Linked DNA regions of Homo sapiens: regions 1 and 3 are each linked to region 2. The links are contacts of gene promoters, found by promoter capture Hi-C in human tissues and cell types (Jung and others, 2019). All regions are on one chromosome and are shown on one strand. Each heading gives the region's core, a stretch centred on a gene start or on the middle of the fragment in contact. The rest is flanking DNA. Distances are from core to core; before and after follow the strand shown. Region 1 overlaps DACH1 (dachshund family transcription factor 1). Region 2 holds the start of DACH1 (dachshund family transcription factor 1). Region 3 overlaps DACH1 (dachshund family transcription factor 1).

Evidence for each region. Contacts are between HindIII fragments. The study calls those that stand out against the background at their distance.
Region 1: a fragment that was not itself captured here is called in contact with the fragment with the promoter of DACH1 in region 2 in 1 of the 25 tissues and cell types used here (pancreas).
Region 3: a contact is called between a fragment that was not itself captured here and the fragment with the promoter of DACH1 in region 2, in 1 of the 25 tissues and cell types used here (hippocampus).

Annotation. Positions count from the first base shown.
Region 1 is chr13:71,832,674-71,835,744 of GRCh38, reverse strand. The region is part of intron 1 of DACH1 (dachshund family transcription factor 1); the gene reads left to right. Among named protein-coding and RNA genes, the nearest start is that of DACH1, 33 kb to the left of the region's middle. The HindIII fragment of the contact is 3,444 bases long and covers 1-3,071 here.
Region 2 is chr13:71,865,947-71,869,221 of GRCh38, reverse strand. DACH1 (dachshund family transcription factor 1) reads left to right here and starts at 2,018. Exons shown (of 11, transcript NM_080759.6): 1 at 2,018-3,275. The coding sequence starts at 2,453. The HindIII fragment of the contact is 6,446 bases long and covers 394-3,275 here.
Region 3 is chr13:71,802,341-71,805,507 of GRCh38, reverse strand. All of the region lies in intron 1 of DACH1 (dachshund family transcription factor 1), which reads left to right. Among named protein-coding and RNA genes, the nearest start is that of DACH1, 63 kb to the left of the region's middle. The HindIII fragment of the contact is 4,518 bases long and covers 1-3,167 here.

The DNA of each region.
Region 1 (3,071 bases), core at 417-2,916, 33 kb after region 2:
GATAAGGTAACCATAAAATTAATTAGCCGAACTAGGACACTCTTGAGAATAAACAGAAACAATATTACTAATTCTGTTGGGACAATAGGTATAAACTAGGACTATCATGGGCAAATGGGGATATATACAGTCATGGACCAATAGGGCCTCTTTTTTTCACCAATACATAAAGGATCAATCACCAGTAGCTTAGAGATGAGCAGTTTTTAAAAAGTCTGAGATAATTTTTACCTCTGGGATAATTTTAGGAGACAAGACAAAATTACCTTACTTGGAGGCAGGCCAAGAGAACAGGATTCTTACCCTTGTTGTTTTATTTTCATTTTAATAAGCATTACAGAGTTTCTCATGAATGACAGTGATTGCAAAATTGATTGAAAGCTCATTTTAATTCAGACTTCTCCATACAATATTTTTTCTTTAGTTTACTTCTTCCAGTCCTTTTGCTCTGTTTCTTGTATTTGTATACATCTCAGTAAACAAGCCTTTATTTGCCTTGGCAAGCTCTAGGTATTTTATTCATTAAGTGAACAGGCCGGTTTCTTTTCTAACAGACTGGTGGTTACCATTTCAAACAGCTCCCTTTGGTCTATTTTGGTCTTATTGTGACTCTCTGAGCCAACATTTCCAAAGTTTTCACCAGCAAATATGTAGGAAGAACAATGAATTTTGGTGGGGAGTTGAGGAGAAATGGGAAAAATTTTGGCAAGCTTGCTTTTCTGTCTTCTTATCTGTTTGGCAAATTCCTGGGCTGAGCCTCAACACTAAATTTCTCTCCCTGCACATGGACAAACACTGAGAGAAAGACAAATGTGGGAAAAGGGAGAAGTAGAAAAAGCAGAGGTAAAAATGCAATGCCTGGGATTTTCAGAATGCCGACAAATATGTGGGTATCTATTCAGCTTCCAAAAATTATGCATCTTCTCTGATTCCCAATGCAAAAATGTGCACATGATTTCTTTGATCTCAAATGGGTATTATTCCCAATATCGTATTAAAGTCCCAATTTTTGAAATGGGAAAACGAAACCAATTTAAGTAGTGCATCAGATGCCACTTAAATGTTAAGGTGGGTCCACCCTTTATAAAATGAGAGAATTGGTCAAACATAGGCTACAGCGGGGTGCGGCGAGGCAACAGAGCCGTTAAAAAGCGTGTGGAATTCTATGCTGAATTCTTCAAGTTCTGACTTCATTCATGGGACTACTTTCTTTTATATAGATAGTGATTCCAGAAATAATGTCCCATAATAGTATTTCAGAGGTGCTCTTGGGCACAATAGCTCTAGATAGTGGAGATTAGGTAGATATTTGGGGTCTTACTTCACGGGCGTGTTATATGAGAACCTTTGCATCATCCATTTTGCTTCTAATCACGTTTTCCATTTCTGGTGTGTGCTTCCCTCATAACCCTGTTTTTATATCATAACGTTTGCTGTATCAGCACCCATTCTCTTTCCACTGCTCAGTTTTAAATAGCTTCATTATGAAAAATATAGTACTTAAAAACATGGCACAAATGTGTATTACTTCAGCACAAGATAAAGAGATTACTGAGAAGTGCACTGACTGCTGAAGTAACTTTATCCTAAGGGATATTTCGCTACTTTAATTGATTTTTTCTGTCCATTTTATTAAGAGTCCTTGGAGAAGGTAAATGGTAGGTTACCTCCTGGAAACAAAGGAACATTTGACGTATTTGTTATGACTACCAGTGTGTCCATACTTTTGTAAAGTTAAACATTTTTTTCATCATCATTTCAAAATTACTTATACTGATGAATAAAAAGATGAGGATCAGTTAGTTCCAACCCTAGATAGGGTGTACTTGAATTTTAAATATCTTGTGCTATTTCAGAGAATTAATCTACGTTTTACTTATTTATGCTAGTTAATAAATTGTAGTTTTGACAAAACTAGGGATTACAATTTATTGTATCAATTACTATTAAAACATTTTAAGACACTTTTTTATTTTAGCTTCACAAAGCCATCCTAGGCAAAACTGCATGACACTGTCGAAGGTCTTTAAGTGGCGTCTCTCACTGCTCTTAGTTATAAAAGTTTAGATGAATGAATACTCTTATAAATCAAAAAAGCTTATAAAGTACCCAGGCTGTGTCACCAAATCCCATAGTTGGTGTGGGCTCTGAATTGTGATATTCATACAAGTTCAGGAATAGTTAAGTTCCAACATTATCACTCCCACCTGAAATTAGGATACTGTAAAAAAAATTATGATGCTACACAATATGTTTATAAATCTCTGTTTTAGTCTATCAACATCGTTGTTTTCCATCATTCTCTCCACTTATACTTCAAGTAGTAATGTGTACAAATTAGGTTAACGGATGCTTTCAAACAAAATTTAGTTTAAATTTGTTTATTCTCTTTATAAACAAAGATAAACAAAATAAAAAGGATGAAACTATGAGACTTTCATGAGCCTCTTTAAATAACCTAGCTCTGTATCTGGGTGAAAGTGACCTACATCCACTGGACCATAGAACCCATCCCTCAGTGGGTCCTGGGGCAGGTATTTCTCACTGAGCATCCCTAATACTCCTAGCCCAGGTGCTACAGATGAATCTGATGCACTAGGATTCTTTTACATCAATGTTGGCTCTCTCTTACAAAATGTTTTCTCTTCTTGTAGCTTTCAAAACGTTCTATTCACATAGATCTCAGAAGATTCTGAAGGGAGCGCAACTTCCCTGTTAGCGTCTTTCTGAAGCTATATGGATTTCATTAAAAATAAAAATAAAAATAAAAAAGTAGGGAGTGGAATTCAGATTGTTTTACTTAATTGTCTTCTCTCAAAAAAGAGGAAAAATAGAGATAAATTAATTACTCCTCTTTTTAGAATAGTAGGAGTTATCTATATATAAAAACAAAGCAATTTAATGTTGGCTTGGTCATTTAACTTAAATACAATTGAAATGAGAATAAACAAAATGAAACAAACTGCTTTAATTGAACCTAGGTGGCTGGATATCATGCCTTCTCTTACATTTTTACATTTCCAGTAGTAGAAGATGTCTTATTTTGAGAAGCTAAATTGATCAAGGTCTAT
Region 2 (3,275 bases), core at 769-3,268:
CTATAGTTTAGTCTTTTAAAACCATATCAAAATTTATTAAAGTTAGGCATAGAATTCGAAAATAAAATTAGCTTTTCAGGGCTTAATACTTTCTTCCTCCCCTCCCCTCATTATAATAGTAGTTTGGTATGTCTTAAAAAAGTAATATTTTCTAAAACATGCAAAAATACTTAAGGAAGTGTTTTGATGTATGTGATATATATTGAATTCCTACTTTTACCCATAACAAATTTGAAGACTGAAACATAAATAAAAATTATTTCTGAATGTATTACAATACATTGGTTAACCAGGCCAAACAACTGTTTAAACTTTAGTTGTCCTTGCAGAAGTTCATGGACTTTTCTGCAACAATCGATTTTCTGAATTCTTATCTCCCAGGAAAGCCTCCTGATTTAACTGCTATGTCCCAAAAATTTTAGTATAATCATACACTAATTAGTCCATAGTGTCATATTTCTATTTTTCGGTAGACAGTTCCTGCACTATTTGACACTGCGATTCACAGAGTTCAAAGGCTTAAAATGATATAGAGAAATGTGATCATTTCAACACCAGAATGGCAAAAATTTTATTATAAAATTTCCCAACCCTGTGAACCTGCTACTAACAGTTTATTTTAAAAATCTGTCAAATGCTAAAGCATTGCTTCATATCTTATGAACTTACTGAACATGTGTGGACCGGTTCAAAGGCTAACTAATTGAAGATACTTGGAGACATGAGCAGCAAATAGATTTGACCCATATTCAAATGATATGTTAGTCAAAAATCCTTGAATAAATACTTCAGTGCAACAAGTTAGAAAAGAAAAGAAAAGGAAAGAGGAAGGAAAGGAGGAATAGAGTCAGTCTAAACTCAGCCTCATGTTGTTTTAAGCACAGCTACCCAAGTCTTTACAAGTCAACTAGTGAGCTTTGTTTTTGTTCTTCCCATTATTTACAAAACATATATTTACTGACAAATTGAAAAGGACTTTCCAAAACTACAGCAGCACTTTTCAAACATGAAAAAAAAAAAAAAAAAACTATTGTGTTGTCCAAAAAACACATTAGCAATTGGCTTTGGGTCTTAAAGGACATGAGGATAGTTGGTTACTGTGTAAGACAGGTGAATTAATTATAGAGTTTTGGGTAAGAAAACCCTTTTTCCACTTTCTAAATCTTCAAGGATACCTTATCTCCTTGATAGCTCTAGGTTTAACAGGTATTTCTGACTGGCTTTTGGGGAGACAGTGAAGTTATTCTAAATCATCCACATCAAGGCAAGCATTTCTTTCCACAACCTATTAGGAAATATGGAATTGAATACAGAGCTTTCCATTATTCTTAAGCGATTTCGGACTGACTTTCTTCTCACCACTTGAAAACTGTCCTGGAATTTTCACTATCTTTATATAAATAAATAATTTAGTAGAGAAATAAACAATCAGATGCAAAAGAACATTACGCTTTGCTTACATGTGAATTTTCCTCAAAATAATTTCTGAATAATCGTGAAGTGGGGGCTGTGTTTTCGTTTCTAGCTCATTGCCAAAACGCGTGGAGATGGATCCTAAATCCTGGAAGGAGAGAGCTCGGCGCGCTCAGGCTCCTCTTTAAGTTGGCGGGCGATTGTTTAGAAGCTTTGGAAAAAATTACCAGTCCCCGCGGACGAAATGGAATGTGAGACATGCAATCTAACGGTAGTAGTAGAAGAGAAGTAGATGATCTCCCTCTCCTTTTCCGATCGCCACTTCTGTGTCCCCGGCTTTTCCTCTCCGTCCCTCCCACAGTTTCTTTCCGTATCCTCCCCCTCCCCTCCTCCTTTCCTCGCACGCTCCCTCTCCAGTGTCTCGCGCTCTCGGAGTCTCTGCTCCGAGTTCCTGGTTGGATAATTTGGGTTAATACTAGTGAGTGAGGTTTTTGCGGCTTCAAAGGGTATTTCAAGTTTCCGGAGCTCCTCCCCTCTGCACCGTGTGACAACAACAACTCGTCCAGCCGGCAGCCTGCACTTTTCAGCTCATTTTCTCTCTGTCATTCCCCTCTCAATCTTTGATCAATGTACTTGCCAGGGAGAGCCCAAGTCCTTCAAACCTCCTCCTTTTCACCTTCATCCTTAACTTTGTGCTAGAGCGAGACCCACACAACAACAGCCGACCCTCCCCGCCCCACCCCCACCCCCAAACCAGCCCTCGATCCCAGCCCCCGGAGAGGACTCGCATTTCGACTTGCGGGACACTTTTGTGCGTTCCTCTCCAGAGCGCCTCTCGTGCTCGCCCCTCTTGCGCTCGCTCTTTATTACCTTCACCTCCTTTTCTCCCCCTTCTCTCCCTTTCTCCTTCTCGTTCTCTCCCGGAGTTGTTGTTGCCCCCCTCGCTCCTTCTCCCCCCTTTTTTCCCCTTCCCCTCCCGGGGGTGTGTGGCAACTTTTCCTCTCGCTTCTCCTCCGTCTGTTTCCCCTTATATGTGACCATGGCAGTGCCGGCGGCTTTGATCCCTCCGACCCAGCTGGTCCCCCCTCAACCCCCAATCTCCACGTCTGCTTCCTCCTCTGGCACCACCACCTCCACCTCTTCGGCGACTTCGTCTCCGGCTCCTTCCATCGGACCCCCGGCGTCCTCTGGGCCAACTCTGTTCCGCCCGGAGCCCATCGCTTCGGCGGCGGCGGCGGCGGCCACAGTCACCTCTACCGGCGGCGGCGGCGGCGGCGGCGGCAGCGGAGGCGGCGGCGGCAGCAGCGGCAACGGAGGCGGCGGTGGCGGCGGCGGCGGTGGCAGCAACTGCAACCCCAACCTGGCGGCCGCGAGCAACGGCAGCGGCGGCGGCGGCGGCGGCATCAGCGCTGGCGGCGGCGTCGCTTCCAGCACCCCCATCAACGCCAGCACCGGCAGCAGCAGCAGCAGCAGTAGCAGCAGCAGCAGCAGCAGCAGTAGTAGCAGCAGCAGCAGTAGCAGCAGCAGCTGCGGCCCCCTCCCCGGGAAACCCGTGTACTCAACCCCGTCCCCAGTGGAAAACACCCCTCAGAATAATGAGTGCAAAATGGTGGATCTGAGGGGGGCCAAAGTGGCTTCCTTCACGGTGGAGGGCTGCGAGCTGATCTGCCTGCCCCAGGCTTTCGACCTGTTCCTGAAGCACTTGGTGGGGGGCTTGCATACGGTCTACACCAAGCTGAAGCGGCTGGAGATCACGCCGGTGGTGTGCAATGTGGAACAAGTTCGCATCCTGAGGGGACTGGGCGCCATCCAGCCAGGAGTGAACCGCTGCAAACTCATCTCCAGGAAGGACTTCGAGACCC
Region 3 (3,167 bases), core at 106-2,605, 63 kb after region 2:
TAAATATTGAAAGTGTGAATTAAAGCTTCTGCAAAACAATTGCCATATAAATTTCCTTAACCACTATGAATTACATATGAAATATCAAAAAATTGTCCTGGCTTAGCTGGGTTCATTTTTAAACATAATGGGAATAGAAAATGTTGACTCTTTTGAGGCAACCGAAACCTCCCAGAGAATGTAGTTGAGTGTTTGCGTCTCATAGATTTTGGTGGTTGTCCTCAAAACCATCAAGAAAGTAGCCATCAAGATTCCCTCCTTGTTTTCTAGTCATGTCCTGGTACTTTGATGATAATTGTATACAAATGTATAAACCTTTGTAAGGTTATTGACTCTTTACAATCTAGCTATCTGATGATAAAACTTTCTCTGAAATTAAAAATATTCTACGCCCCATTTGGTTCAGTGGCTACTGACATGTGAGTATTGAGCACTTGAAATGTGGCAAGTATAATTGAAGAGCTAAATTTTAAAATTTACTTAATTTTAATTTAAATAGACACATGTAGCTATTGGCTACTGTATTGCACAGTGAAGATCCATAACATGAAGGGTACAATACTGTGTTCTGTGTTCCAGAGAAGACAAAGCAAACAAACGTGAAATACTTCTCATACGGTAGGTAAGATAAGATATAAATATGTAGGTAAATAATTAATAATACAAGTCAGGATGTTGAAAAAGATTTTAGATAGACTAAACCCCTTGAAAGAACATATTGAAGCAAAAAGTGGGGAAAGATCAATTCTAGTTTATGATGGAAGAGAAAGGTTTATGGAAACAGAAATGTAGACAAACTTTGACTAGTACCTTAACAGGTGGAGCTAATGGCATTCCAGAGGGTGGGAACTTTGTGAGCAAATGCAGCGCTTTGGCAAGAAGAGGTCCAATCATGTAGCTAATGAGTAATAAGATTTAGCTAGAGGGTCAAGAAAGAAGAGCCTTGAATATTGGCTAGGGCCTAAATACGGTAAGCAAAGAAGTCTTAAATATTTAGTGGACATAAGAGAATCAATCTCTAAAGATGTAGGGAGGTGAAATAGGAGGTTATAAAGTGGCCCAGGAGAGAGGTTTGATGCCAGAATCACACTGGTCGCAGTGGTAAGAGAAGGAAGATGATGGGGAGGAATGTCTTGGGTGCATTCTCCCATAGCTGCTGTCTCCTATAGTAGCATGTATTATGTATTTCTTCTCTGAGACAAGGTCTCACCCTGTTGCCGAGGCTGGAGTCCAGTAGTACGAACATGGCTCACTGCAACCTTGACTTCTTGGGCTCAAGCAATTCTCCTGCCTTAGTCTCCCAAGTACCTACAAGTGCATGCCACCACGGCCAGCTACGTTTTAAATTTATTGTAGAGTTAGAGTCTTGCTATGTTGCCCAGGTTGGTCTCTAACTCCTGGGCTCAAGCAATTCTCCCACTTTGGCCTCTCGAAGTGCTGGGATTACCTATGTGAGCCACTACACCCAGCTTTGTAGCATATATTTTTAAAGGGGAAATAAAAAGCCAATCTGTTCCTCCTGTACACCTGTAGCCTTCTCAGCATAGTACCTAATTATATTTCATAGTGGTTTATTTTCAAATACCCAGTCCTAGGCACAAACACATGACAAGATGTCTAAGAATCTAGCAAGATCCAATGCCTTAAGGCTTGATTTTAAAGAGAGGAAAGAGAAGGTGCTGAGATATCAGCCCGTTTTCATTGCTAGATTACATTGATAGTGAATAGATGGGAGGAATAGAAGGGAAATACAAACTTACTATTTCTTTGTGAGCTGATTTAAGCCTGATTCCATGTTTATAAATTGTGAGAAAACTTAAAGCTTTTTCCACGAAATAAATGTCTAATAGGGTCATGATTTTTTTCTTCATAATTTGCTTTCGAATGAGAAAGTTAGAAAATTTAAGTAGAGACTTCAAAATATAAGGGTAAGTTGTCTATGTGAGGAATATTTATTCATATATGTAGTAGTTACAATTGTTAAGCTTGAGAAATTTGCAAATTTACAATCATGGGCAAATGCTTGAACTTGGTCGCATATAAACAAGAATATACTTCGGTTTAAAATTTGTAAATATAAGTTTTAAAATGTTCAAATAAAGAAGTGACAGTTCCAATTCTTTAGTAACTATCCTAGTTAAACGCATCAAAAAATATACATGAACAGTTTACTTGTAAAATGTTATCATACTGTTAGAGAGGGTGTTTGTTAAGAATCTAGTTGTGTAATGAAATTGCTAAACAGGATGTTAAAGCACTACCAGGAATCTTACACATCTTCAGCATATCAGAAATCATGCAAATGTTGGGCTCAAAGTTTTAGTTTGTTCAAAAATGCTTTCAGATATTAAATTGGTATCTTGTTCCCATAAATACTTTTTATTGATGTGCCTTTGTTTTAGGAACATTTCAAAATAGGACTTAAGAGATTAACCTTAATATGTTCATACACTTTGAAATTTTACCCACAAGTTATTATGACAAACATTTTGTATATAATGAGAAAAGTTTATTTTCTATAAACGCTGGGTAAATGTTGGAAGCAGAAGGACTTTGTTTTTGCCAACTGTTTGCTTAAACCTACACAATTAAATCACAATTATTACTGCTTCTCTGAACAGTTTCTAAATTTTTGGTTCACATATTCCTTGGTTTGTAGATGTGTATGTGTGAGCTTTTAATACAACCAAACTTTTAGCATATCTATAATCACTACAGTCGTTTTGCATTTTGAGTGTGTTTGTCTCATACTCTGAAAACAATGGTATATTTTTTATTGCAAATTAATTTTGTTTTCATTATTCACAAAAGCCTGCAACTCTTTTAGTTATTAGACCTTCTTTGTTTTGATTTAAACATATCCTCTTACTAAAATTGTTTATATTCTTCAGTTTATATTAATATAAAGAATAAAATTTTTGTTTTATTTTGTTTTCCCTGGATGGAAGATTTACACATACTTGCCACATTTTCTGGTTGCTCTCTGTTTCTGTTAGCTTTCATCTTCAAGCTGAAATTTTTCTAATTCTTTGTCTTTCTTTCAGTAATTTAATTCCACCAGAACAGATTAAATATGCTTTATTTATATTAGCATATAAATTAATAATGATTCAAACAATTATTTAACAAATAATAGAAAAAAGTATTAAATGGATTCACAAACCCAG